Linked DNA regions of Homo sapiens: regions 2, 3, 4, 5, 6 and 7 are each linked to region 1. The links are contacts of gene promoters, found by promoter capture Hi-C in blood cells and fetal thymus (Javierre and others, 2016). All regions are on one chromosome and are shown on one strand. The core of a region is centred on a gene start or on the middle of the fragment in contact, and the rest is flanking DNA. Distances in the headings are between cores, read along the strand shown. Region 1 holds the start of CDK4 (cyclin dependent kinase 4). Region 2 overlaps RAB5B (RAB5B, member RAS oncogene family). Region 3 holds the start of SARNP (SAP domain containing ribonucleoprotein). Region 4 holds the start of PMEL (premelanosome protein). Region 5 overlaps PYM1 (PYM1 exon junction complex associated factor). Region 6 overlaps LOC105369781 (a long non-coding RNA gene). Region 7 overlaps SARNP (SAP domain containing ribonucleoprotein).

What was found. The method cuts DNA at HindIII sites, captures the fragments that hold promoters and counts their contacts. A CHiCAGO score of 5 or more calls a contact.
Region 2: a fragment that was not itself captured here is called in contact with the fragment with the promoter of CDK4 in region 1 in 1 of 17 cell types (monocytes); the score reaches 5.9 in monocytes.
Region 3: the fragment with the promoter of SARNP here is called in contact with the fragment with the promoter of CDK4 in region 1 in 2 of 17 cell types (activated CD4 T cells and total CD4 T cells); the score reaches 6.2 in activated CD4 T cells.
Region 4: a contact is called between the fragment with the promoter of PMEL here and the fragment with the promoter of CDK4 in region 1, in 1 of 17 cell types (monocytes). The highest score is 5.2, in monocytes.
Region 5: a contact is called between a fragment that was not itself captured here and the fragment with the promoter of CDK4 in region 1, in 1 of 17 cell types (monocytes). The highest score is 7.5, in monocytes.
Region 6: a fragment that was not itself captured here is called in contact with the fragment with the promoter of CDK4 in region 1 in 1 of 17 cell types (monocytes); the score reaches 5.6 in monocytes.
Region 7: a contact is called between a fragment that was not itself captured here and the fragment with the promoter of CDK4 in region 1, in 1 of 17 cell types (monocytes). The highest score is 7.3, in monocytes.

Annotation. Positions count from the first base shown.
Region 1 is chr12:57,751,060-57,754,675 of GRCh38, forward strand. It overlaps CDK4 (cyclin dependent kinase 4), which reads right to left and starts at 1,251. Exons shown (of 8, transcript NM_000075.4): 1 at 1,116-1,251; 2 at 441-677; 3 at 148-283; 4 at 1-31. The coding sequence starts at 658. RefSeq lists silencers at 401-540, 1,271-1,350, 1,581-1,700 and an enhancer at 877-1,610. The HindIII fragment of the contact is 8,675 bases long and covers 1-3,616 here.
Region 2 is chr12:55,981,300-55,985,078 of GRCh38, forward strand. All of the region lies in intron 1 of RAB5B (RAB5B, member RAS oncogene family), which reads left to right. Among named protein-coding and RNA genes, the nearest start is that of RAB5B, 9.1 kb to the left of the region's middle. The HindIII fragment of the contact is 281 bases long and covers 1,113-1,393 here.
Region 3 is chr12:55,815,414-55,819,172 of GRCh38, forward strand. SARNP (SAP domain containing ribonucleoprotein) reads right to left here and starts at 2,311. Exons shown (of 11, transcript NM_033082.4): 1 at 2,253-2,311. The coding sequence starts at 2,288. It overlaps ORMDL2 (ORMDL sphingolipid biosynthesis regulator 2), which reads left to right and starts at 2,628. Exons shown (of 4, transcript NM_014182.5): 1 at 2,628-2,699; 2 at 3,586-3,759. The coding sequence starts at 3,587. The HindIII fragment of the contact is 4,326 bases long and covers 1,164-3,759 here.
Region 4 is chr12:55,964,767-55,968,693 of GRCh38, forward strand. It overlaps PMEL (premelanosome protein), which reads right to left and starts at 1,276. Exons shown (of 11, transcript NM_001384361.1): 1 at 1,170-1,276. The coding sequence starts at 1,245. CDK2 (cyclin dependent kinase 2) reads left to right here and starts at 2,064. Exons shown (of 7, transcript NM_001798.5): 1 at 2,064-2,358; 2 at 3,091-3,168; 3 at 3,283-3,403. The coding sequence starts at 2,243. RefSeq lists an enhancer at 1,755-1,834. The HindIII fragment of the contact is 16,386 bases long and covers 1-3,927 here.
Region 5 is chr12:55,913,389-55,916,958 of GRCh38, forward strand. All of the region lies in intron 1 of PYM1 (PYM1 exon junction complex associated factor), which reads right to left. It overlaps LOC124902941 (a long non-coding RNA gene), which reads right to left. Exons shown (of 2, transcript XR_007063325.1): 2 at 438-978. Among named protein-coding and RNA genes, the nearest start is that of PYM1, 13 kb to the right of the region's middle. The HindIII fragment of the contact is 1,939 bases long and covers 1,081-3,019 here.
Region 6 is chr12:56,009,743-56,013,692 of GRCh38, forward strand. LOC105369781 (a long non-coding RNA gene) reads right to left here. Exons shown (of 3, transcript NR_135023.1): 2 at 1,797-1,936; 3 at 350-529. It also overlaps a transcript of IKZF4 not described here. Among named protein-coding and RNA genes, the nearest start is that of IKZF4, 9.3 kb to the right of the region's middle. The HindIII fragment of the contact is 1,691 bases long and covers 471-2,161 here.
Region 7 is chr12:55,798,601-55,802,339 of GRCh38, forward strand. It overlaps SARNP (SAP domain containing ribonucleoprotein), which reads right to left. Exons shown (of 11, transcript NM_033082.4): 3 at 2,254-2,300; 4 at 1,962-2,029. Among named protein-coding and RNA genes, the nearest start is that of SARNP, 17 kb to the right of the region's middle. RefSeq lists an enhancer at 1-120. The HindIII fragment of the contact is 8,110 bases long and covers 1-3,739 here.

The DNA.
Region 1 (3,616 bases), core at 1-2,500:
CTAGGCCTCTTAGAAACTGGCGCATCAGATCCTAGTTTCAAAGGGGAGGTACAGATGCACTGGAAACTAGGCACCATACCTGAAATCCCAGAAGGTTCTACTACAAAGGTCCCAATCCACCTCTCAATGCCTACCAACCCCACTCACCTTGATCGTTTCGGCTGGCAAGCCTGGTGGGGGTGCCTTGTCCAGATATGTCCTTAGGTCCTGGTCTACATGCTCAAACACCAGGGTTACCTTGATCTCCCGGTCAGTTCGGGATGTGGCACAGACGTCCATCAGCCTGACCAGAGTAAATGCTCACTTTTCAATCCCCTTTAACCCAACATGGCCTCTCATTATTTCCTCAGGGTCCCCACTTCTCTACAGATCATCACACCCCACCTATAGGCTGTCTTTTCCCTTTACTCCCCACGCCCAACCCTCCACCACCTTCTCACCGGACAACATTGGGATGCTCAAAAGCCTCCAGTCGCCTCAGTAAAGCCACCTCACGAACTGTGCTGATGGGAAGGCCTCCTCCACCTCCTCCTCCATTGGGGACTCTCACACTCTTGAGGGCCACAAAGTGGCCACTGTGGGGATCACGGGCCTTGTACACTGTCCCATAGGCACCGACACCAATTTCAGCCACTGGCTCATATCGAGAGGTAGCCATTCTCAGATCAAGGGAGACCCTACAATCACAGACTCCTATCACCAAAAGTCGCTTACAGAGTTAGGATGGTATGAGCCTGCAGCAACAAAGGGACTCCCAAAAAAAAAGCGCAAAGAACACCACCAGCATCCCATCCCCCGCTCCCAGTCTTCCTTGGGGCCGGCCCCAGAGATAACACAATGACTCAATACCAACCCCTCCAGCCACGTGAGGCCCTGCAATAGAAAACGCTTTTTCCTTTGGGACAATCGCGCCCCGCACAAAGATCACACATGACACATGCCTTGCATCGAAGATCCTACACCTCAGTCCCTAAAATTATACTTTCCCATGACCACAAAGGCCCCACTTCCCGCCCTTGAGCGACCCTTCCATAACCAGCTCGCGAAACGAACGCGTGGAAAGCTGTGAGGGGGGCGGGCACTGGTTCTCATTCCTGGGAAGGGACTGCACTTACCTCACGCCAGCCCGGGGTGCTGTGGGGGCGGCCCGTTATCGGGGCCCCGGAGCCGGTTCCTACGGCCCCATACACCCGAGCTCGGTCCGGAGCAGCTGGACGCAGAGGGCCCGACCATAGACACAGGCCGCAAGCTAGAGAGGCCCCCTCACCCCCACCCTCACCATGTGACCAGCTGCCAAAGAGGCGCGCGGAAACTGGGAGGGCGGGGCGAACGCCGGACGTTCTGGGCACGTGACCGCCACCCATGCGCTGAGGGGCGGACAGGAGGTGCTTCGACTGGGAGGAGGGCGAAGAGTGTAAGGGGGCGGAGGGGCGATGGCAGCCACGTGATCTGTTGCTATCACACGTGACCGCTTGACATTGCTCTGAGGAGCAGAGGTGTGGCTACGCGGCGGGCACGTGACTGGCTGCCACAACCCCCGCTGCAGGGGGGGAGCGGTGAGGGGGACAAGAGAGGGTGGAGCCCGAGGCGGTGCCATGGCAACCTAGGCCACCCAGAGCCCAACTCCCGGCTGAAGGATTGTCTCACTACCGGTCTGAAGGCTGAACTCCAGTCTCACTACCGGTCTTTCAGCCTGTCTGCATTGGGGAGGGGGTGGGAGTTGGGGTACCAGAGGTGATGCTGTCACCTTTTCGCTCCACCATGAGAAAACATACTCTCATTTGTGTCATTGTTTCATTCATTAATTCTACAACATTTTACTGAGTGCTTGCTTCCAGTGTGTATGTGGGTTTTTATTTTGTTTTTGGTGTCTGTCACTGGCCCTTTAAAGTAGTGGTACGACTATCTATAAAGATGTAGCCAACAATGGGGTCTTCTACAATAGGGAGTAAACAATGCCCATTTGAGGGCAAAACTACGATTAAAGGATGACGGAAGGCAGATTAATACAGTAATCCAACAGGCTCAGTGACAAGGTAATCCTCTCACTTTTCCAACTTCCAAACCTCCCTGGGAGTGTTAATGCAAAGACCTGAGGCCATCTGGCAGAGAAGTTATTGATGAGCAGGAGACAGGAATACTTGACCTTTTAAGTTTTTTTTTTTTTTCCAGTAGGAAGGTTCTATGATTATGTGATATTTGTATGTGTGCATATATGCTTCTATGTATATATGTATGTATATGATATTATTTATCACATCATATATAAGACGGATACAGGATTGCACATGTGCAAGAAAGTTACCACCACACCCCCTGCACCCTCCAGACCACCACAATGAATGAAAATGACATGCCCCCTTCTGCAAACCTTGTGACTACTCATTTGGAGTTATTGTGCTTCCCTCTTTTTCCCTAGTGCCGCTTTCTTAGCACTTAGCACTGTCCAGAACACACTTGTTCCCAAATGGCCTCTGCCCAGACACCTAGGTAGACACAAGTAGATTTCTCCTACTTTGTTTTATTGGCTCCAAGGTCTTTATCTCCCAGCCCTTTGGGGGTATGGGAGTAAAGGAGGAAAGCGGTTAGTGTCTCATTTGTGAGAATTTGTCTAAAATCTAAAGCCATTTTATTACCCTATTTGCCACTCCTTCCACTCTAACTTCTGTTTTCCTTAACCATCTGGCTGAGAATATAAGAGTTCAAACTAGAAGATGAATATAAACCATGACTTAGAGCAAAATAGAATACATATTAATACAGATGCCTCCTCTTTCCATCCTGATACTTGTAGCCCTGGGCCCCTCCTGGCAAGGGCAGCTGGAACACTAGTAAGAAAAACCTCAAGGACTGAACTGACTAAGGGGCTCAAGAGGTGAATGTTTTATTGGCTACCTTGCTAGGGGTGGGTGCTTTGTAAGCCTTCTGGAAGGCTAAGATAATTGTCTGTGAGTTTTTCAAACTCCCTTCCCACACCAGCATTCCCCACTTCAGCCTCACCTTCCACATAAGACCTTCACAGCTTACTGTCTTTGCAACAGAAGACGTCCTCTCTGTCTGCTTGGGTCCCAGCCCCTTTTTCTGATTCATTCATTAGTCCATCCAAAACATTTGAATACTTCATGGGAACATTACTGTCTCTCCATCACTTTCTATTGAGGAACCTTAATTTGGCAGTCTGTCCCAGGCTCTGTCCCCTCCCTTCTTCTGTTAATTACTCTTTCACTAATTAAATTTTTTCCCAGTATGTTTGACCCAATGAGCTCCCCTGGAATCCCTTTTCCCTCAGCTTTGCAAAGGGGAGGAGAGGGAGAATGTAAGTGTAAGAAAGAAAAAAATGTGATGGGGGTAGAACTTGGCCTCAGAGGGAAGTCTCCATAAAAGGAAAGGGGTAAGTGTGTGTATTGTTCACTTCAGTGTAGTGGAGGTGAGGGCAGGAGAGTACCAGGAAAGACACTCCCATCCCTTTAGCACGCCTACCTCCCCTGCTCCCTCCCTCACCTCCTTCACACATTACAATCACAGGCTTCTGTTTCTCAGACAATCCGATTCCATTCCTTACACACCTCTCTTTCCCAGTCCCCATCGATCACACTTTTCAGCCCTTTGGGTAAAG
Region 2 (3,779 bases), core at 3-2,502, 1.8 Mb before region 1:
GTGATCTGCCCATCTCGCCCTCCCAAAGTGCTAGGATTACAGGTGTAAGCCACCACGCCTAGCCCAAATTGACTAATTGTATGTGTCTCGGTTTCCTCACCTATAAAATATAGAGACTGGACTAAATGACCTCTAGACTGGCTCTGATCTGCCTGACTGACCTTAAGGCTGACAACTGGTACTGGGTTGGACTCCAGTGGCTATATATACCGAGAACTCTGTCTCTGTTGATAGGTGATAGACTTCTGGAGACTTCATATGTATTTGGTTTAGGGACTCAAAGCTAACAAGTGGAAGGGGGCTTGAGGAATGGAGTCTTACTCTAGCTGGGACTGCTAAGACACTTTTACTGTTATGCCTACTTTGCTGCACTGCTTGGGAGAGTTGCCCACATTAAAGAACATCCTCCATGGGTCTCCTGCATCTAGTGGGCTAACCCATGGTCAGGCCTCAATCCTCCCTAGTTAATGGGTCATTTTATAAGTCATTCTTGTAGAGCCGTACTTCTTTTTTTTTTTTTTTGATGGAGTCTTGCTCTGTCACCCAGGCTGGAGTGCAGTGGCAAAGTCTCGACCCACTGCAGCCTCTGCCTCCCAGGTTCAAGCAATTCTCCTGCTTCAGCCTCCCAAGTAGCTGAGATTACAGGTGTCAGCCACCACACCTGGCTAATTTTTGTGTTTTTAATAGAGACGGGGTTTCACCATGTTCGCCAGACTGGTGTTGAATTCCTGACCTTAGGTGATCCGCCCACCTCAGCCTCCCAAAGTGCTGGGATTTCAGGCATGAGTCACTGCACCCGGCAGAGCTGCACTTCTAAGGGAAGTTAAATCTGATTTCTTCTCTTCTGAGCTAAAAAGGTTGAAAGGAAGAGAAACCTGCCCCATCTCCCTTTTTTTTGTCTCGGGTTTGAAGGTAATAATCATCATACCACTTGACTGGTTTACCAAAAAAAAAAAAAAAAATTAGTATTTTTGTGGGAAAAAATGAGAATAGAAAATAAATAATTGAATCTTATATGTATTATTTCATTTCTGTACCACAGAATTTTTGAGAGTCTAGCTATTATATTTTTTAAATGATACCCTTATAAACATGATAAGATTAAAGATCAAAGCTTAGAGGTGGCTCAACAATTGCTGTGAACAGGGAGGAAGGCAGGACATATTCTTTCTTTTTCAGAGGTGGGATCTCACTATGTTGCCCAGGCTGGTCTCAAACTCCTGGGCTCAAGTGATCCTCCTGCCTTGGCCTCCCAAAATGCTGGTATTACAGGCGTGAACCATGATGTGCAGCCAGAACATACTCTTAAGGCTACATATTAGGGTACGAGGTAGTCTTTTCTAAGTCAGTAGTTACTGATCTCTGAGAATCCAAGGTTGCTTAGTAGCAAGAAAGCTTGCTGACCACATCTGGGCTCTGGCTTGACTTCCCATCTCTGAGAGTTAGTGACAGAGACTTTGCAACTCAAGCGTGTCTGCAATTGTTTCCTGTCTTTACACTCCCCCAGAGCTCAAGTGATATGTTTAGCCATGAGAATTCAGTCCATTCTAACTCCCACATTTTCCTTTATTGTAGAGTAGTAACATTGAGGCTTAATATTCTACCCCTTGGATCACATGCTTTGAAATACATAAAAATGTAAGGGAGTAAGTTGAAAAAACCAGTAACTTTTTCTATTGTTTCTTGAGAGTATAGCATATATATGTCACCTGAAGGAAACTTGATCAGCTTATCATCTGTCCTTTTTTTTTTATTATGGTGTCACCTGTCTTCTCTTTTATTTATTTTTTATTTTGAGAGACGGAGTCTTGCTCTGTTGCCCAGGCTGGAGTACAGTGGCATAATCTCAGCTCACTGCAACCTCCGCCCTCTGGGTTCAAGCGATTCTCCTGCCTCAGCTTCCCAAGTAGCTGGGACTACAGGCATGTGGCGCTACACCCAGCTAATTTTTGTATTTTTTAGTAGAGACGGGGTTTCACTATATGTTGGCCAGGCTGGTCTCAAACTCCTGACCTCTCAAACACCAGAGTGAGACTCTCTCTAAAAATGGAAAATAAATTTTAAAATGTTATAATTAAAGATACTCATTTAAATTGAATAAATTTAGCTTTATGAAAAATTTGCTGTATCATCTTTATTTTGATCCTTTCGTCATAGGCCATTGAAAACTTAATCATAAAATGGTACATGTATATCTGAATTTTTAAGACTGACTGACCAAGGGGACTACAGAATACCCAGTAGAATCAAAGTAATTGTCATGTTCCTCTGTATTAATCTAGTCTACTTTGGGACCTTGAGTTCTCACCTCTCATTCTTTTGCTAACTTCCTCTTTACCCTTTAGTTATGTCTCCTTTTTTTTTTTTTTTTTTTTCCAGAGATAGCGTCTTGTTCTGTCGCCCAGGCTGGAGTGCAGTGGTGTAATCAGCTCACTACAACCTTCAACTCCTGGGCTCCAGTGATTCTCCCACCACAGCCTCTGGAGTAGCTGGGATTACAGGCACATACCACCATGCCCAGCTAATTTTTTTAAATGTTTTCTAGAGACTCAGTCTCGCTATGTTGCCTAGGCTGGTCTCAAACTCCTCACCTCAAGCAAGGCTTCCCCTTTTATCTCCCAAACCCCTGGGATTACAGGCATGGGCCGCTCTGCCAGGCCTGTTTTTTCTCTTTTTCTTTCTCTGTACCACTTTCATATTGTGGCTTCTTCCCTGCCCCCGATCTCCCCCCTACCCACCCCAGGTGGAGTCTTGCTCTGTTACCCAGGCTGGAGTGTGGTGGCACGATCTCGGCTCACTGCAACCTCCGCCTCCCGGGTTTAAGCAGTTCTGCCTCAGCCTCCCGAGTAGGATTACAAATGCCGGCCACCAACCACACCCGGCTAATTTTTTTTTTTTTTTTTTAGACTGAGTCTCGCTGTTGCTCTGTCGCCAGGCTGGAGTACAGTGGTGCAATCTCAGCTCACTGCAACCTCCACCTCACAAGTTCAAGCAGTTCACCTGCCTCAACCTCCCAAGTAGCTGGGACTACAGGCACGCGCCACCACGCCCAGCTAATTTTTGTATTTTTAGTAGAGACGGGGTTTCACCATGTTTGCCAGGCTTGTCTCAAACTCCTGACCTCCTGATCTGCCTGCCTTTGCCTCCCAAAGTGCTGGGATTACAGGCGTGAGCCACTGTGCCCGCCTTTTATTTTTTGAGACGGAGTCTCGCTCTGTCACCCAGGCTGGAGCACAGTGGCGCATCAGCTCAGTGCACCCTCTACCTTCTGGGTTTAAGCGATTCTCCTGCCTCAGCCTCTGGAGTAGCTGGGATTACAGGTATGCACCACCACACCCAGCTAATTTTTTTTGTATTTTTAGTGGAGACGGGGTTTCACCATGTTGGCCAGGCAGGGCTCGAACTTCTGACCTCAGGTGATCCACCTCAGCCTCCCAAAGTGCTGGGATTATAGGTATGAGCTACTGCACCCAGGCTGTGGCTGCTTTTTAGGAATATATTGATAACAACTAATATTGAGATATATTTTAATAGCTATTAGCACTATGCTAAACACATCTTTCACTTATTATTTGTAGCTATGAGGATGGTATTTTTTCCATTTTACAAAGGTAGAAGGTAAGGCTTAGAGAGGTAGAGAAATTCTCTTTATATCATATTAGTAATGATTAGTAGCTTAATATTTATTTAGCACTTAGTATCTATCAAATACTTAAAATACTTTAGTTATTTATATGCATTATCTCATTTAATCCTTACAACACCCTTATGAAGTAGGT
Region 3 (3,759 bases), core at 1,061-3,560, 1.9 Mb before region 1:
GGAACCAAACATTAATTGTCCTAAAAATCAGAATCAAAGGCATGAGTTCTTTTTTTCTTTTTGAGACGGAGTCTCACTGTCCCCCAGGCTGGAGTGCAGTACACCATCTCGGCTCACTGCAACCTCCAACCCGGGCTCAAGCGATTCTTGTGCCTCAGCCTCCTCACAGCCTCCTCAATAGCTGGGACTACAGGCACTTGCCACCACACCTGGCTAATTTTTGCATTTTTGGTAGAGGCGGGGTTTCGCCATGTTGCCCAGGCTGGTCTCGAACTCCTGGCCTCAAGCAATCCGCCCGCCTAGGCCTCCCAAAGTGCTAGGATTACAGACGTGAGCCACCACGCCCAGCTAAAGGCATGAGTTCTTAACCAGAGGTCCATGGACTCCTCGGGGCTACAAGGTAGTTTTATGAAGCCCCTCAAACTGCATGCAAAATATGTGTACATGCCTTTTTCTGGGGAGAGGGTCCATACCTTTCATCAGAGTTTCAAAGATATCTGTGACCTCCAAAAGGTTAAGAAGTGCTCTAGAGAAAAAGCAAAGACAAGCAAATGTGATTAAAGAGCAAGTCCTTTTTAGGCTGTCAGGAGTGCCTAATGTTCTCTTAGACTGTAACACTGAAATCAGGTCAGAGGACTTTACGTAAAAGTTACTTATCCAATCAAATACAAATTTTATATAGACCTGACAAATACAGATTTGATGGAAGGAGGAACTCCATAAACCAACACAATCTATAAATGCAAGTAAGTCATCGGGCAGCTGGTGACTTACTCCAGGGATTTCAAAAATAGGACAAATAGGAAGAAAATATTAGCTCTTCTATATATAGTTCCTTTTTATCTCATTCAAAAATTCCTTTTCTGTGTTATATTTTATAACAGTCCAGAAGTATACAATTTCTATAAGTACAGTATATATAAACAAAGTGGAGATGATTGCTCAATTTTTTTTAACTCATCACAATAAAGATCAAGAGACCGCTGATATAGTCTATGCATTTCAGTATCATCAAGTTAACAATAACTCCAGAATAACACAAAAACCCACTAACAGAGTTTAGAATCCAAGAGTAAGAAAAACATCAGTTTCACAGAAAGACTAATTGGGGTCAACTAATAAGTGACTAAAGAAGGGTCCTCTCCCTACCCTTACTACCCTTAAGCTTTCTTAACAGCAACAAAAACAAAAAAAAACTTTTCGAGCTTTAAAGGATCACTTTTCAGTTTCAGCTATATCAGCCTGGTTTGTCCAAAACATCTAATGGGAAAACTACTTGTGAAACCACAAACAGACAATTACTCAAGATATCTTAATTTACCCTAAAAGAAAATACTTTTTAAAATGTTCTTCTTTTTAATATATTTTTTTAACTTTTTTATATATCTAAGTGTGAAAAAACTACCAAGAGTCTCATAAGACAATTTAAAATAGCTTCTGTGATTCAGTGTCAGCCAATGGTAACACCAGGAGATGCAGGGCCCACCCGAGATATGAAATGGAACAGAGATAATCTTAACCTTGGAATTGTTTTTCCCAAATATTGCAGGTGTGAGTTCTCTCTGGTGGTTGGAGATGGTGTGTGAGGAAGGCTGGCGGGCCGAGAGCCGCGTGACAGAACTCGAAAACTTTTAAATCTGAGGTGTCTGTACTTCTACTATTCTCAAGACCTCCTCAACCCCAGGCTTCTAAGGCGAGACCGATCTTCTGAGAGGCCTCTCCCTGTTTCAAAATTCGGCTTGGGGCGTAATCCCACCTAGAAAAGGGGAGTGGAAGTATTTTCTGAGTGTCTGGTACCTATTTAGACAGAAATACACAAAAATGCCACCATTTGCTAACAGGGAAATCTCAGCTTCGGACGACAGACTGGAAACATCATCCCAGGGAAGAAAAACGGATCCTGGCTCCGACATGGGGCAAAAAGGAGGGACCAACTGACGTAATGCAGCCCTGAAAAGCAACGAAGAGTATAACAGGTAGAAGGCACTTACACAACCCAGTGGGGAAGGGTGACGGACGATACAATGATGAAGGAAGCAGAAATAACAAATAAATATAGCAGTAAAGCCGTGAGGAGAAATGGGAAATTAGGGAAGGCGTAGTGTGGAAGGGTGGCACAAAAGAGCTACGGCGGGAGCCGAGAAACGAAGTGGAAAAGGCTGCACGGAGAAGACGTAGGAGAAGGCGCAAGCTACCCTGTAGAATTCAGTTCCTAGAAAAGTCCAACTCAGCCCTTCCCCGATTCACGGTACCTTTAGCTTATGGAGCTCCACCGTCTCGGTCGCCATCTTGTTACCCCTCACTCCACTAGGCCCCCACCCGCGGCCTCCGCCTCCAGGAGCTCCCGCCTTAGGCGTAGAGATGCAAGGCTGACCAATCGTTGTCACTCTTGCTCCCACGCCATACCATCAGCTCTTCCCATTGGTCAATAGCTGACGTCGCTCTCACTTCTCTAGGCAGCTTGCCCCACCTCTTTCAAAAGGTGGAACTGGGAGAGGGGCGGGCACTGTATCTTGCGAACGACAGAAATGGCAACCAACTGTGCTTCTGCATTACAGACCACCAACCAATGGGTGGTGGCAGCGCTGATTCTGTTCCTCCAATAGGAAAGGGGCAGAAGGAGAGGCGTTACTTCCTGGAGACTTCAGGTGTGGTAGCCGGCGCCGCGCCCATAGCCGGACGGGGATCTGAGCTGGCAGGTAGGAGCTGCAAAGACTGTAAGGGTTGCTGAGGAAAAATGGTGGGAGGCGAAAGGGGCGCCGAGGGAGTGGTGACCTAAATACTGAGAGGGGAGCGCTGAAGGGAGCCCTGAAAAAACCGATGAACATGAGGAGGAAGCTGGGAGGGGCATGGGGCGGGCTTAAGGAACTGGCGGTGGGGCTGGGGCGGGCAAGAGCCGCTTCCTAACCAGACATCATCAGCTTTAGAGCTACCACAATTTTAAAGATCCGAGTTCAGATAATCACTGCTGCCCCTGGAGTCAGAGCCAAGGCTCCACCTTTCGAGGTATTGAGCTCAGGTCCCTTCCTAACCCAGTCCAGAAGCCGTGGGCAAGTTGTTGTCGTGCCCCACGCTTGAGAGAAGTAATGGGGATGCAGACTGTTTACATGCCACGGAGGTGAGAGAGAGGGTGGACAAGCCCCAGAGAACAAAGTGGGGACCAGAGTGAGCTTTACTCTGTCATCCCTTCTTAGTGGTTCTTTGATGATTCCATGACTTTCGCCTGGAATTCTGGGTGTACGTGACCTCTTCATGGTTATTAACTTCTTCAGCAAAGTCAGATACTCCTATTTCCCTTGCTCCCTGAAGTGAGTGCCCCAAGCCTACACATACACCTTCATGTTACAGTTGACGTGTAAAGATCAGAGCAATAATGACTATGTCTCTGAAATGTAGTGAGGACTCTTCTTGTCTTTTAAAGTTTTCCCCAAGTCTTCAGTTTTTATTTTCTGCGTGATGGGTAAGTTCTTCATTCCCAATAGAGTTCAGGGGATTGGGGCTATCTGAGAGACAACTGGGAGATAGCTCAAGAGGGGTTGAGAAAAAACTGAGCTGGACTCCTGCCTGATCCCCCATTACGGCTAGGATGAATGTGGGGGTGGCACACAGCGAAGTAAACCCCAACACCCGAGTGATGAATAGCCGAGGCATCTGGCTGGCCTACATCATCTTGGTAGGATTGCTGCATATGGTTCTACTCAGCATCCCCTTCTTCAGCATTCCTGTTGTCTGGACCCTGACCAACGTCATCCATAACCT
Region 4 (3,927 bases), core at 26-2,525, 1.8 Mb before region 1:
AGGTGCGTACCACCATGCCCAGCTAATTTTTGTATTTTTAGTAGAGATGGAGTTTCACCATATTGGCCAGGCTGGTCTGACCTCAAGTGATCCACCCGTCTCAGCCTCTCAAAGTGCTAGGATTACAGGCATGAGTTACTGTGCCGGGCCTCATCCCCTTTCTTTTTTTTTTTTTTTTTGAGACGGAGACTCGCTCTGTCACCCAGGCTGGAGTGCATTGGTGTGATCTTGGCTCACTGCAACCTCTGCCTTCTGGGTTCAAGTGATTCTCCAGCCTCAGCCTTCTGAGTAGCTGGGACTACAGGCATGTGCCACCATGCCCAGCTAATTTTTGTACTTTTAGTAGAGACGGGGGTTTCACCATATTGGCCAGGCTGGTCTCGAACTCCTGACCTCGTGATCCACCTGCTTCAGCCTCCCAAAGTGCTGGGATTACAGGCGTGAGCCACGGCGCCCGGCCTCATTCCCTTTCTAATGTGTGCTGTAACCCTAGTTGATTCTGCTGGGGGAGGATCTGGAATCATCTATTGAGCATCCCACCACTAGAACAAGAGAAGTCATAAGATACCCCATTCTTTCTCCACTTCCAACTCTCCTCAGAGCAGCACGGGACATTCCAGACCCTCTCACCACCCCACCCCCGCCCCTTGCTCCTGTCACGAGGCCCAATCCCCCAGAGCCCTTTCATGTGATGCTCAGCTGAGACCCCTCTGCCTATCTCTCCAGCCCCAGAACAAAAGGTCTGGGCTGTGTTCACCCGTACCCATCCCAAGAGGAGAGGATTGTATCTCCTTAGTGTTCTTACCCAATACCACATTCTCTGACTCCCCACTTTAAATCTCCTACCCCAAGAGACGTTTCCTAAAAGAGTCTCCTGCACATTTCACCCCTTTGGAGCCCGTGCTCCAGCTCACTGCCAAGGAAGCCTCAGAATCAGTGCCACAGAGACCTTCTATCCTTCTGCCCCTCCAAGCATATGAGATTATTTTCAGGCAAAATCCCAAATCTCCATGTAGGGAGGGAGCCCAGGTGCCCACATCCTCACTAAATCAAATGAGTGGGAGACGCCTGAAATATTGCCGCTATCTCCCATTAGGAGGACAGAAACCAGAGCAGGGGGAATTCATCCCCAAGTTCACACCTGCTCATGTCCACATATCCACACATACCTTTTGTAGCCCCCACAGCCAGCAAAGCACCTATCACAGCCAAATGAAGAAGGCATCTTTTTAGCACCAGATCCATTGTGTTCTTCCCTCCAGCAACCAAAGGCACTGGGGGGACTGGGATAGGCCCCTATATAAGAAAAGGGTGCTCATTTGCATAGCCCTTCCTCTTCTCCCTCAGAGAAGGCCTGGGAGGGGCCGGAGGAGAGGAAAAAGGAAAAACTGACAAAGGGATCCTGGTCCCTAGACATTGCTTTCCCATCCTGCTACTCAATGACAGTTTCTGGTTTCACTGGGTCACTCTCATCTTGATGCACTCCCGGGCAAGAGCTAACTGAAAGGCAGCTGCGTAACACATACCAGACACAACAGTTTATCATGGGAGAGTGAATTAAACCAGGAACTTCTCAAAAAGACAGAAACAGAACCCTGCATCCCAAAACAGAGACAGTGTCGGGGTATGCTATGAGGCAGAGGCAACGACTCCTCTGAGGCCCAGGATTCCTTTGCAACGAGATTCCCGGCTTCCTGGTTTCCAAAGGAGGCTCCTGGGCCAGGTGGAATTTAACCTTAGGTCGATACATATTTTCCCCAGGATTGGTGAAAATAGTGAGTTAGAAATCAAGAAATCCCTACAGACTAGAGACATAGGTAGGAAACTTGGACCCAAAGCAGGTACTTGGGAAGAGTGTTCAGCCGCCCCACCGGGGAAGAAACTTGTCTAGCCCCCAAGAACCAAACTTGCCTGGGGCGGGATCATTTGCGGGGAGGAGCGCTGGGCTCGCCCCCCGGCTCTGACGTTGACCAATAGAAAGGCCTGGGGGCGGAGCCAGGGAAACGCGGGAAGCAGGGGCGGGGCCTCTGGTGGCGGTCGGGAACTCGGTGGGAGGCGGCAACATTGTTTCAAGTTGGCCAAATTGACAAGAGCGAGAGGTATACTGCGTTCCATCCCGACCCGGGGCCACGGTACTGGGCCCTGTTTCCCCCTCCTCGGCCCCCGAGAGCCAGGGTCCGCCTTCTGCAGGGTTCCCAGGCCCCCGCTCCAGGGCCGGGCTGACCCGACTCGCTGGCGCTTCATGGAGAACTTCCAAAAGGTGGAAAAGATCGGAGAGGGCACGTACGGAGTTGTGTACAAAGCCAGAAACAAGTTGACGGGAGAGGTGGTGGCGCTTAAGAAAATCCGCCTGGACACGTGAGTGGCCTCTGTACCCGGGACTCCTAACTGGGGACCTCCTTGATTGTCCCCCCCAACCCCCCACGGGCGGGTAGCCGTCCAGGGACCGGAAGAGAGCAGGGAGGGACTTCTTTAGAAGTGGAGAGGTGGGTTGGGGGCCAGTAGAAGGTGAAGAGTATACTTATACTCCCTGGGGAGAGTATAGGGTGGTGTGGAATCCATGGAAAACTTTCTTCCCAAACTGAGCCGGATCGTGCCCCCAAATGTGCGACTACAGACTCGGGGAGAGAAAGGAGGTCTCTGAGATGAGGTCCAAGACTCTCCATGGAGTGGAGTTATGTGGGAACCGGCGAGAATCGCCTTTCTGAATGAAGAGCCCTCTTCACTGCCCCACCCTCACCTTAGAATTCTCTCCTCTTTCCAAAGAATGGCAGTTGAACCTCACTGGCCCCTCTGGGGAGGCTGGGGGCTACTCCTGCATTTTTTCCCCTCCATTACAGTCTCCCTGCTTCACCTTCACCAGGCGGCTTTACTTACCTACCCCTGGGAAAAGAGGAGATAATGGCCTTAATATATCCAAAAACCACACCCTGACTACCCAAGAATTAGCTCTTACCATCACCCTTTCTCTTCTCTCACTTTCCTAGGGGGTGCTGGGTGGTGTCTCCTTGGGGGAAAGAAATGACTAGGTGGGGGGGAAAGGAATATTTGTAACCATATTCCCATCTCTGCTTTCCCAACCTCTCCAAGTGAGACTGAGGGTGTGCCCAGTACTGCCATCCGAGAGATCTCTCTGCTTAAGGAGCTTAACCATCCTAATATTGTCAAGTAAGTATGCGTCTGAGAGGTGATCCAGCTGGAAAGGAGGATAAGTTCTGTCTGTACAGTGTGGGCATTTCTCTCTCTCACACACCTCCATTTCCTCAAACTTTCCTTCTCTAGGCTGCTGGATGTCATTCACACAGAAAATAAACTCTACCTGGTTTTTGAATTTCTGCACCAAGATCTCAAGAAATTCATGGATGCCTCTGCTCTCACTGGCATTCCTCTTCCCCTCATCAAGGTAATGCTTCTCATCAGCTCCTCTCATCATGGGCATGTCTTGGGGGACTGGTGGCAGGCAATTCAGGGTGATATTTTATGATTTTGGCCTCCTTCTGAGCCCTCATCTCCTATACACACACACTCCCCTTCTTTTTGTGTCTCCTTCCCTGCTCATTATATTCATTAACCCTAGGGTTGGACTGAACAATCAAAGTTGAAACTCTAGTGAGTCAACCTAGCAACTCAGGTGGGAGGTCAGATGAAACTCAGATAAACGGGATTTGAGAGCACTTGGTAAATTCCTCCAAAAAGCCCTTCCATTTGGTGGAAGACCTAGCTAGTGAGTCCCTATTGTCTATTTTAGGGCTGGATTCTTCACTCCCAGAGCTACTTTCAATCTATTAACAAACATTTTTTCAATGCACAGGATGTAGAAAAGGGATGGAAAATTGAGTAAGACTTGGTCCTTATCCTCTCTGGGCTGACAGTCCATTGGGAGAAATAGCTTGTAAATATGTAACTATAATCCAACATAATAAAGGC
Region 5 (3,570 bases), core at 800-3,299, 1.8 Mb before region 1:
GCATATGTAACGTGAAAAGAGACTCAGGGTAAATTAGTGAGACTATGAAAGGTCTCCAACCTCCACTGAGTTTGGACTGAAGCCTTAAGCTGTAGAATACTGATGGCCAATAAGGGAGTACAGGTGATCTGTTCAAAGCAATGATTTAAGATTAAACTGAAAAATGTGTACCATAAACTAAAGGTAGAGAAAATGAAAACAACAGCTGCAATGTGAAAAGACTTGACTTCGATGGTTTCTACAGGTAATGAAAGGAAAATGAAGGAGAAATTCATTGTGAAGATTAAATCAACAGGATCCAAAGACTTACCAAGATGTGAATTAGAGAGGAAATAATCAAAACAGTGACACAGTGGATTTAATCTCGTGCTTTTCACATGTATTCTTATTTTTCTCAATATACGGTAGGGCACATGGTAATCACATTTATTCACACGTGGATTTTAAATTTTTATTGAGCACTTACTCTTGTGCCAGACACTGTAACAGAAGCTAGGAATACAACAATGAATAAAGCAAGCAAGGTTCTTGCCTTCTTAGAGTATACATTCTAGTGAGAAAGATAACAAACAAGAACACAACTATTTATAATTATCACTCTTGAATTTGGAAAATTGGGAAAATAAAAACTACTGATATAAACAAAGTCCACAGGGGAAAACAACTTTGTGGAAACAATTCAATTCAGGCAAGTGTTTTACATGGAATTTGGGAGAAAGGGACAATACTACAAACATATATTTAAGTTGATTGCATAGAGATTATAGCTGAAGGTTTAGGAGGACTAAAGATAGACTGTAATGAAAGGCAGAGCAGAAGCTTCTTGAATGGCCATCCTGTGTGGAAGCCCTCAGAGATACAAATAGCCCATTATCACAAAGGAGCACCTATTTTATGTTATCTTGGTTCCATCCTCTGGCCTTGATGGTATCCAAGGGTGAAGTCAAAAAGAAGGGAGAGGTTTGGCGGTTCCCACCCCTAGAAATAAAAACCAAGGGCAAAATATCAGGACTTTCAGATAATATCTTGCAGAGAGTCAAAAACTAGAGATTGGGGACTGCTACTGTAAGAATCTTTTTAAGCTTTGTCATTTTCTCACATCTGCCGTTTTTTAATTCTCAATCTATTTCCTTAAGTCTGTCAGCAATAAAAACTCTTACACTGAAAGGGTCCTTGTTTCCAGGGGTTGCAGGTAGACAGTGAAAAGACAACATAGCAAGGCATGGAGGAACTCCAAAGAGGTAGGGGACATGGTTGTTAAAGGTATGAGACCTTTTTCAAATAAGAAAAGAGATCTAAGTCACAGGTCTCAGCCTGCGGATGATCTCAGGGCCAAAATAAGACCTGGATGTGGTTTCCAACACAGAGAAAATATAACAAAGAGAAGATGAGAGCTGGAGGAATGACCCTGAAATAATGATCATAATCATTTCCCTCAAGGAAGAAAAGGTGACAGCAACAACAGGAAATGATTCATAGGAAAGGAAGACCAGGACATGCTAAGCCATGGAGACCAACAGTTTTAAATAAAGGTAGGTAGGTGATGGCCGGGCATGGTGGCTCACACCTGTAATCCCAGCACTTTGGGAGGCCGAGGTGGGTGGATCACGAGGTCACGAGATGGAGACCATCCTGGCTAACACGATGAAACCCCATCTCCACTAAAAATAGAAAAAATTAGCCGGGCATGGAGGCACATGCCTGCAGTCCCAGCTACTCAGGAGGCTGAGGCAAGAGAATCCCTTGAAGGCGGGAGGCAGAGGTTGCAGTAAGCCAAGATCGTGCCACTGCACTCCAGCCTGGGCAACAGTCCAAGACTCTGCCTAAAAAAAAAAAAAAAAAAAAAAAGTAAAGGTAGGTGATTAACAGTATTAAATACTGCAGAGAGATCAAGGAAAGGAGAACTGAGAAAAAGGTTCTGGCTTTGGCATTTTGGAAATCCCTGGTTATCTCCACAAATACAGCCTCAGAAAAGCACGGTGGTAAAGAGGCCAGACTACAAATTAAACAAAATAAACATTAAAAGCCTCCTAGCTGGGCTTGGTGGCACACACCTGTAATCCCAGCTACTCGGGAGGCTGAGACAGGAGAATCACTTGATCCTGGGAGGCAGAGGTTGCAGATCATGCCATTGCACTCCAGCCTGGGCGACAGAGCAAGAGTTTATCTTTAAAAAAAAAAAAAAAAAGCCTCCTAGAAGAAAAGTACCGTAAGTGCCAATAGGGTTATCAAGATGAGTAAGATGGTCCCAATTTTCAAAAAATTTACAGACTAAGTAAGGAGGAAGTGGGCAAATTAGGCAAGCAAAGCATAAGACAAAAGTAAGAGTGTCGTAAGTATCCTAAGAGATGACAGGAGATAATCAGGAAAACCTCATTTGACACTAAAGACTAGAAAGTAGTAATAATTAATGATAACAACAAATCAGCAGCCAGTATTTCTGCAGGCAGAGAAAAGGGAAAGGGGATAAGAGGAACAACAAAAGCAAAATCCTAGCAGTGGAAAACTCAGTATTTAAGAATGATTAGTAAAGAGTATTTATTAATAAGTAGCTACATTACAGGAGGAACTTTGTATACATCATCCTGTTAAATCTAAACGATAGATAGATATCATCATTTACAGCCAAGGAAACAGTCTTCAAGAGGTTAAACACATGGTCAAGTCTTGGTGCGGTGGCTCACGCCTGTAATCCCAGCACTTTGGGAGGCCAAGGCGGGCGGATCACCTGAGGTCAGGAGTTCGAGACCAGCCTGGCCAACATGGCGAAGCCCCATCTCTACTAAAAATACAAAAATTAGCCAGACGTGCTGGCACATGCTTGTAATCCCAGCTACTCGGGAGGCTGAGACAGGAGAATTGCTTGAAGTCAGGAGGCAGAGGTTGCAGTGAGCTGAAACCACACCAGTGCACTCTAGCCTGGGTGACAGAGTGAGACTCCAGCTCAAAAAAAAAAAAGACATGGTCAAGATCCCAAAGGTAGCACATATCTGTAACCTGAACTCAAGTCTGATGCCAAAGCTTACACACCATCGCACTGCTGTTCCACATCAGCCATACAGCCCAGTTTCACTAGAGGGTATGGGCAAAAACATAGCATGTGATAATACTACATTTAAAAGTAGTCAGCCAGGCACGGTGACTCACGCCTGTAATCCCAGTACTTTGGGAGGCAGAGGCGGGCGGATCACCTGAGGTCAGGAGTTCAAGACCAGCCTGACCAACATGGAGAAAGCCCCGTCTCTACTAAAAATACAAAAATTAGCCAGGTGTGGGGCACATGTCTGTAATCCCAGCTACTCGGGAGGCTGAGGCAGAAGAATCACTTGAACCCGGGAGGTGGATGTTGCGGTGAGCCGAGGTCAGGCCATTGCACTCCACAGCCTGGGCAACAACAGCAAAAGTCGGTCTCAAAAAAAGAAAAAAAGAAAGTAGTCTGAGGTTGGGCGTGGTGGTTCATGCCTCTAATCCCAACACTTTGGGAGGCTGAGGCAGGCAGATCGCTTGCATCCAGGAGTTCAAGACCAGCCTGGGCAACATGGTGAAACCTCTTCTCTACAAAAATTAGCT
Region 6 (3,950 bases), core at 66-2,565, 1.7 Mb before region 1:
GTTGCCCACTGAGTGCAGTTAGTTAGTTGAATTGTAGCTTCTGGGCAATCCCCTTCCTCTGAGTAGGTTAAGGGTAAGGCATATTTCAGGACTTGGCTCAGAAATAAGTCCTGACTTTTTTCCAGTGAAAATGCAACTGAAAGTCTCTTTATGTCCTCTTAGTTTGAAATCTGCAGCTTGAACTTCCCAGCATGGGAGAAACTTATCCCACCTTTCACCGTACCCCCTGCCCCCCCACACACAGTAGTATCCACAAAGGAATTATTTTTTTTCCCCAACTGGCCATCTCTCTCTCTGTCTCTCTCTCTCTCTCGCCACACACACACACACCAAAGAAAAAGAAAGATAGGTATTTCTAGCCTCGTTTTACTCTGTAGGAACAAATAAGAGTGTGGGACCCTGTGAGTGTGGACAATGCCACAGGCAGAGGGACTCCCTTTCTTTATTGGTCTGTTGACTCTGCTGAAGAAAGCTTTGAATTCCAGGCTTTGATTTGCTTCCTCTTCTTAGAAGAGTTATGGACTCTGTTCTGGAAACAGAGAGATAGGTTCAAAGTTTATCAGACAAAGGCATCTAAGAAAGGGTAGTGCTGATATGAATGACCTGGTCCAGCTGCGGGGAGGATCCACATTGTAGGCTCTGATGCAATACCTATGCTGGGGTAGTCCTCAAGCTAAGAGGCCGTTTCTACTTTAGAGACTTAATGACCATCTAGTTTGGTGTTTTCCTCAGGTCCATTATCTCTGAAAAGAGACATAGGAGGAAGAGGATTATTTATCCTCCCATCCATAAGCCTGTGTTTCCAGTTCAAGGATTTAGGTCAGCAAGACGCAGACCCAAAAACCATTCATTTAATAACCCAAGAAAGAAGGCAAGCAGGGTGGCCCAAATCTTCCAACTGGGGCAAGATTTAATATAGTGTTCCAGTGGAAAGAATCTTCTAATGGTAACTTGGACTCTACATGTCCTAATTCTGTTGTTAATGAGATTGATGACTCTGGGCTTAGTTTCTTCTGTTAAAAACTAGGAAATTGTAGATAATCTCTCAACTCCATTTCAGCTCCAGGATTTCTCAGTTCCTGGAGTACCCCTGCCCTAGACCCTCCACATGAAGAAGAGAGTCTTACCAAATTGGATTATCAGAGCAAGACTATTAGCAGAGAAGCCTGAAAACATCTTTCTGGCCCAAACAACAGTGAACTTTTTTGATCAGCATGTATTAGGGACTTTTGGGCACAATTGCAATCAAAGGCAATTGTTCCTGTCTCTTCTACATTTTTTTTGCTACTGTACCCTAGTCAGAATAGTTCACTGAGACTTCCCTGTAATTTCAAACTTCACTTGAGAGTGCTAACCCTGTTTTGGGCATCTTTGGCTTTAAAACTGATTATTATAAAACTCAAATTGAATTTCCCTGCTCTACTTTCTCCACCCCTGCCAAACATACCACTGAACAGCAGTGATTTTGTGAGGCCTTTCTATAAACAGAGAGCTATACTTGGGGGTACACCCAAAAACCCCAAAAAGTATCATCTCCTATGTATCATATCTAGTGATTTAAAGTGTTTAGTTTGGCCCTTTTCCTTAGTTCCTTATGTCCTGAAATGAGACATGGGAGGGATAGGATCGTTTCTTCTCCCACTCATAAACCTTAGCCTTCTCTCTCTTCTGCAGTCTACATGGGGAGGACAGAGAAGCGCAAAGAACAAGAGAAAAGATGCATCCATCTGAGATCTAAAAGGAGACAATGAGGTGATATTTTCCCCCTGCCCAGGTGTTGTGTTTTCAGCTCTTACCCCTTTTTATTTTAGAGACTGGCCATTCCTAGGATGACCTGGGAATTTATCCCCTCTGCACTGCTCCCCAAGCACTTGGATAATGAAGCTGAGCTGTCTTCAACTGTATTATATGTAGACAGAAGGTCACCATCTACAGCCTGGTGAAAAATGAGTCAGACCTTTCCACTGTAAAGACAAACACATGAGCTGAGCTAAGGTTGGTGGGTTTCCTTCAGAGAGCACTAGGTTGACCCTAAAGATAATTTCAGAGCTGCAAATTGCTTGATGTCTAGGTCTTTTTCCTGGAAAGGGGCTTGCAGACAGTGGCTAATTCCATACCTTTCCCTGGCCCCTTTGCGTCTTCTCCCTCCTCAATTATGCAAAGCTTTGATAGAGAGCAGAGCCAGCTATGTGATTTCAACATATTTTTGCTCAGATTTCACTCAGTTCAGGAAGGCATAGACAGTAGAGGATGATGCTGTGGGTTTGCTCTACTTGTAGCACCTGAATGGCTCATACCCAAGGCACATGGGAAGTTCTGTCTTGTTAATAACTACTGCTCTCCACCGCAGAACCCAGGTACTAAGGGAAAGTGGAGAAAATTTTTCTACTTCTGCCTGTTATAGTTTGGGAATAATAACAAAAACATGGTATGGATCCTTGCCATTCTCTCTACCTTCACCATCTTTCCCAACAATATTCTTCTCATGACCTTTTACCCCCTAGGCCACATTAAGCATGTGTTAAATGACTTTTTTTTTTTTTTTTTTTGAGACGGAGTTTTGTTCTTGTTGCCCAGTCTGGAGTGCAATGGCCCGATCTCGGCTCACTGCAACCTCCGCCTCCTGGGTTCAAGCGATTCTCCTGCCTCAGCCTCCTGAGTAGCTGGGATTACAGGCATGAACCACCACCCCTGGCTAATTTTGTATTCTTCGTAGAGATGGGGTTTCTCCATTTGGTCAGGCTGGTCTCGAACTCCTGACCTCAGGTGATCCACCCACCTTGGCCTCCCAAAGTGCTGGGATTACAGGCGTGAGCCACCACACCTGGCCTAAATTACTTTTTTTTTTTTTTAGTGTCTCAGTGTGTTGCCCAGGCTGGCCTAGAACTCCTGGCCTCAAGCAGTCCTCTTGCCTTGGCCTCCCAAACTGCTGGGATTGGCCCTCACTGCTGCCTGTCAGGGAGCCTGGTGGGAAATCTTCTGTCTAGAAAGGATGCCCATTCCTGTTCAAATGTGTTGTAATGTTGATAGGAGAAAGCCAGGGCCATGGAGGACTCTTGTTTATGCCAAGTGGATTCAAACAAATGGGGAAGAGCTAGGCACAGTGGCACATGCACCTGTAGTCCCAACTACTCATTAGGCTGAGGAAGGAGGATTGCTTGAGGCCAAGAGTTTGAGGCTGTAGTGTGCTGTGATTGTGCCCATGAACAGCCACTGCACTCCAGCCCAGACAACATAGTGAGATCTCATCTCTAGTAAATATAATAAATAAATAAGAACAGGGAAGAAAATTTGTGTCTCCAGAGATTACAATGACCAGCGTTTCCTCCCTCCTCACAGAGATATTCCTTTTGAATTGGAACACTGATTGTTTCTAGTTGCTTTGTATTCAGCTCACAGCTGAATTTACAGTACATATGTGCCTACCCGCCATCACTGAGTGACGGTTATGTTGCTTTATTTATTTATTTAGTGACAGAGTCTCACTCTGTCACCCAGGCTGGAGTGCAATGGCGTGATCTCGGCTCACTCCAACCTCTGCCTCCGGGGTTCAAACGATTCTTATGCCTCAGCCTCCCAAGCAGCTAGGACTACAGGCATGTACCACCAAGCCCAGCTAATTTTTGTATTTTTAGTAGAGATGGGGTTTCGCCACGTTGGCCAAGCTGATCTTGAACTCCTGACTTCAAGTGATCTGCTTGCCTCAGCCTCCCAGAGTGCTGGGATTACAGGTGTGAGCCACCGCCCCCAGCCGACAGTTATGTTGCTTTAAAGCTAATCTCCTTCCAAGATCTTTGATACAAAACTGTCTCATGTAACTAACTTCCCTCTCCTTATACCTCCTCCTCCTGCAATGTGTCTCCAATTGGCAGTGCCTAATTTGACCCAGTTCCTCTAAGGAGACGCTAAGATCTGCCTGGCTGGTTAGGCAGGGGAGGAGGTGCTTTAAG
Region 7 (3,739 bases), core at 486-2,985, 2.0 Mb before region 1:
TATACTTGTGAGTATAAATAATTAGAAAAGGACATGCAGAACTACATTTTTTTTTAATGAATAATCTAAATGTCCATCAACAGAAGACTGGTGAAATAAATTACTGTTTATCCATAGAATGCAATACTATTAAATGCTAGAAAGAACAAGGTTCTAAGTTGATAACTAGTAAATCTGGGTGATAGGTAGATGAGAGTCTATTACACTAGTCGAACTTTTGTATATACTTGTAATTTCCCATAATAAGCTAAACAAAAAGAGACCACTTCCTAGGATAATTATCCTGACTTTACAGGGTCTACTGAGGATAAAATGACAGTACATGTAAAACATTCAGAACAATGCCTAGCATATAACTCTTAAGAACAATGCCTAGCATATAACTAACACTTACATAAGAAAATGATGATATAAAAAATTTCCAGATGTGAAAAAAAATCAAGTGTGCACAGTGTGTGTATACGTGTATCTATATATACACATACATACATATACACATGTACAGACCCCATATATAAAATCTTCCAAAAGTATGTACTGTTCTAAAAACCTCAGTAAAGTCAGATCTGAGAATGGATACAAAGAGTACTTAATTCTTAATTGATATACTCCACTATGTACTGACTTTTTACTTGTAAATACACTGCCTTTTATAATTAAATGCACTAACACAACTATGAGGAACAAAAATGTTCAAAGTTTAGGACTCAACGGCTCTTAATGTACTATAGTACAAAATGGCCAGACATTTGTGGAAAAAGCCCCAAATTAAAGATGTTTAGGATCACCCTTGTGGAACAGTTTAAACAAATCAAGATCTACTTTCCATTCTAGCACTTTGTCCTCCCATCCTCCACTGTAAATCAGAAAGCAAGAGAGAACAGAGTGCTACTTCAGAAACATAACCTCTACCCAACACCCTCCTCCCTTACAAAACTCCTTTATATAGAGTGTCACACTTTTTTTTTTTTTTTTCCCGAGACAGCTGTGGCTCCCAGGCTGGAGTGCAGTGCCACAGTCTCGGCTCACTGCAACCTCCACCTCCCAGGTTCAAGCAATTCTCCTGCCTCAGCCTCCCAAGTAGCTGGAATTACAGGTGCCCTCCACCACGCCCAACTAATTTTTGTATTTTTAGAAGAGACAGGGTTTCACCATCTTGGCCAGGCTGGTCTTGAACTCCTGACCTCGTAATCCACCCACCTCGGCCTCCCAAAGTGCTGGGATTACAAGTGTGTGCCACCGTGCCTGGCCTCAGTTTTACACTTTTCCAGAAAAGTGCAAAACTCTTATGAACAGTTAACAGAATGGGCCGGGCACGGTGGCTCACACCTGTAATCCCAGCACTTTGGGACGCCAAGGCAGACGGATCATTTGAGGTCAGGAGTTCAAAACCAGCCTGGCCAACATGGTAAAACCCTGTCTCTACTAAAAATACAAAAATCAGTCGGGCAGTAGTGGCACACACCTATAATCCCAGCTACTCGGGAGGCTGAGGCAGGAGAATTGCTTGAGCCTGGGAAGCAGAAGTTACGGTGAGCCAAGATCACGCCACTGCACTCCAGTCTGGGCAACAGAGTGAGATCCTGTCTCAAAAAAAAAAAAGTTAACAGAGTTTACACAGTTTTACACTGCATACAGAATTGTACAGATTCTCTATAGAGTAACAGAATAATCTATTATGGTGACCCTACAAAAGAACAACAAAGGCTAGGAGAATTAAACTATGTCTGGTCTTGAAGTCACCTGGTCCTCATTACCTATTACATAACTCAGAGACAATTTGCTTTACTTCACTGGGACCAAGTACTTTGAAGTAGTCCCTTCTAAAAAACAAAAAAATGACCTAATCAGAAAGGAAAAGGCCAATGGGAACATGTAAGAGGTAAACAAAGTTAAACATTAAATACATTAAGAAAAGAGCTGCCTGCTCTGTACTCAGATTATAAAAAAGGGATAATTACACATCAACAGTTTTTTCAGGGGGTTCTTCCTCTTTGACAGGGAGCTCAATGGGCTTTGTTTCTTCTTCCTAAAACCAAATGAAACAAGGTGGTTAACATAAATCTAAAGAATAAATATCTATCAAAAGAAGAACATCAGAACTCCAAAATAAACCAGTCTCTCAGAACCTTCATACCCATCTTATGCTCCCCTAATAAATTTACATCTAAGTCCTCCAATGACTGATGTTAAAGCAATGTGGCCAAAGCAGTGGCACATTACCAGAGACTAACCTTACTCTATCCAACTCACCTCTGTTTCATCTCCCAGTACATCTTCTTCATTTGCCTCCTCTTCAGCTAAAGAATATTAAAATATTCAGGTCAAGCCCTGCTACAAAACCATCTTGATCACTTACCAAGGTTAAAATTATAATCACTTTGCTTTCCCCCAAAAAATCCAACAGTGAAGGCAGAAACTGATGCACATAAAATCTGCTACATCTGGAGAAGATAAAACCAGATTTCTACCTAACATTAATTACAAATGTGAACTCCAGTTGGACTGAAGAACTAAATGTGAAGTCAAACTAGAGAATTAATTTTAAAAGTAATGTTGGGCCAGGCACCGTGGCTCTCTGTAATCCCAGCAATCTGGGAGGCAGAGGCAGGTGGATCGTTTGAACCTAGGAGTTCAAGCGACCAGCTTGGGGAACACAGCGAAACCCCGTCTTTACAAAAAACATAAAAAAATTAGCTGGGTGTGGGGGTGTGCGCCTATAGTCTTAGCTACTGGGGAGGCTGAAGTGGGAACATTACTTGAACCCAGAAGGCAGAGGCTGCAGTGAGCTGAGATCATGTCACTGCACTCCAGCCTGGGTGACAGAGCAAGACCCAGTCTTGAATAACAAACAAAAAAAGTATGTGGAAAAGTATCTTTGAGATTTAGTGGTGGGGAAAGATTTGTTTAAAAGAAAAACAACCCAGAACCAAAAGTAAGAGGTGAAAAATTGAAGATTTTTCAAAACTAAGTACTTCTACTTAAGGATAGCACAAAGAAACTTAAAAGACAAATGACAAGACATTTGTTTTTGTTGAGACAGAGTCTTACTCTGTCGCCCAGATAAAGTGCAATGGCACAATCACAGCTCCCTGCAGCCTCCCCCTCCTGGGCTCAAGGGATCCTCCTGCCTTAGCCTCCCAAGTAGGTAGGACTACAGGTGCACATCACCACACCCAGCTAATTTTATTATTTTTCTTAGAGATGGGATCTCACTATGCTGCCCAGACTGGTCTCAAACTCCGGGCCTCAAGAGATCATACCACCTTAGCCTCCCAAAGTGCTGAGTTACAGGCATGAACCACCCCGCACAGCCAAAGAAGATATTTGTGCCTAAAATCAACAAAACAATAGTTATTAGAATATAAAAGAAATGCCTGCAAGCCAACAGGCAAATTATGGGAACCTCAACAGAAAAATGGGCAAAGAAGAAACCCAAAGAATTGTGAAATGTTTAAACTTTTTTCATGGAGAACATAAAACAGCCAACAAATTAGCAAAACTTAGGCCACTTGATAGGACAGTGCCAAGTTTAGGTTTGTGAAGATACAAGAACCCTTATGTACTAGTAATGAGACTGCAGATCTACAGAGCAATTCTGGAAAATAATTTGGGAGTCCTTAGTCACATTAAGTATATATTTATGAATATTAATTAGCAATACCATTCTTGGGCATATACCCCAAAAAGACTTTCACAGGAACATAAGAGCATAAAATAAGTAGTTCATAATAATATA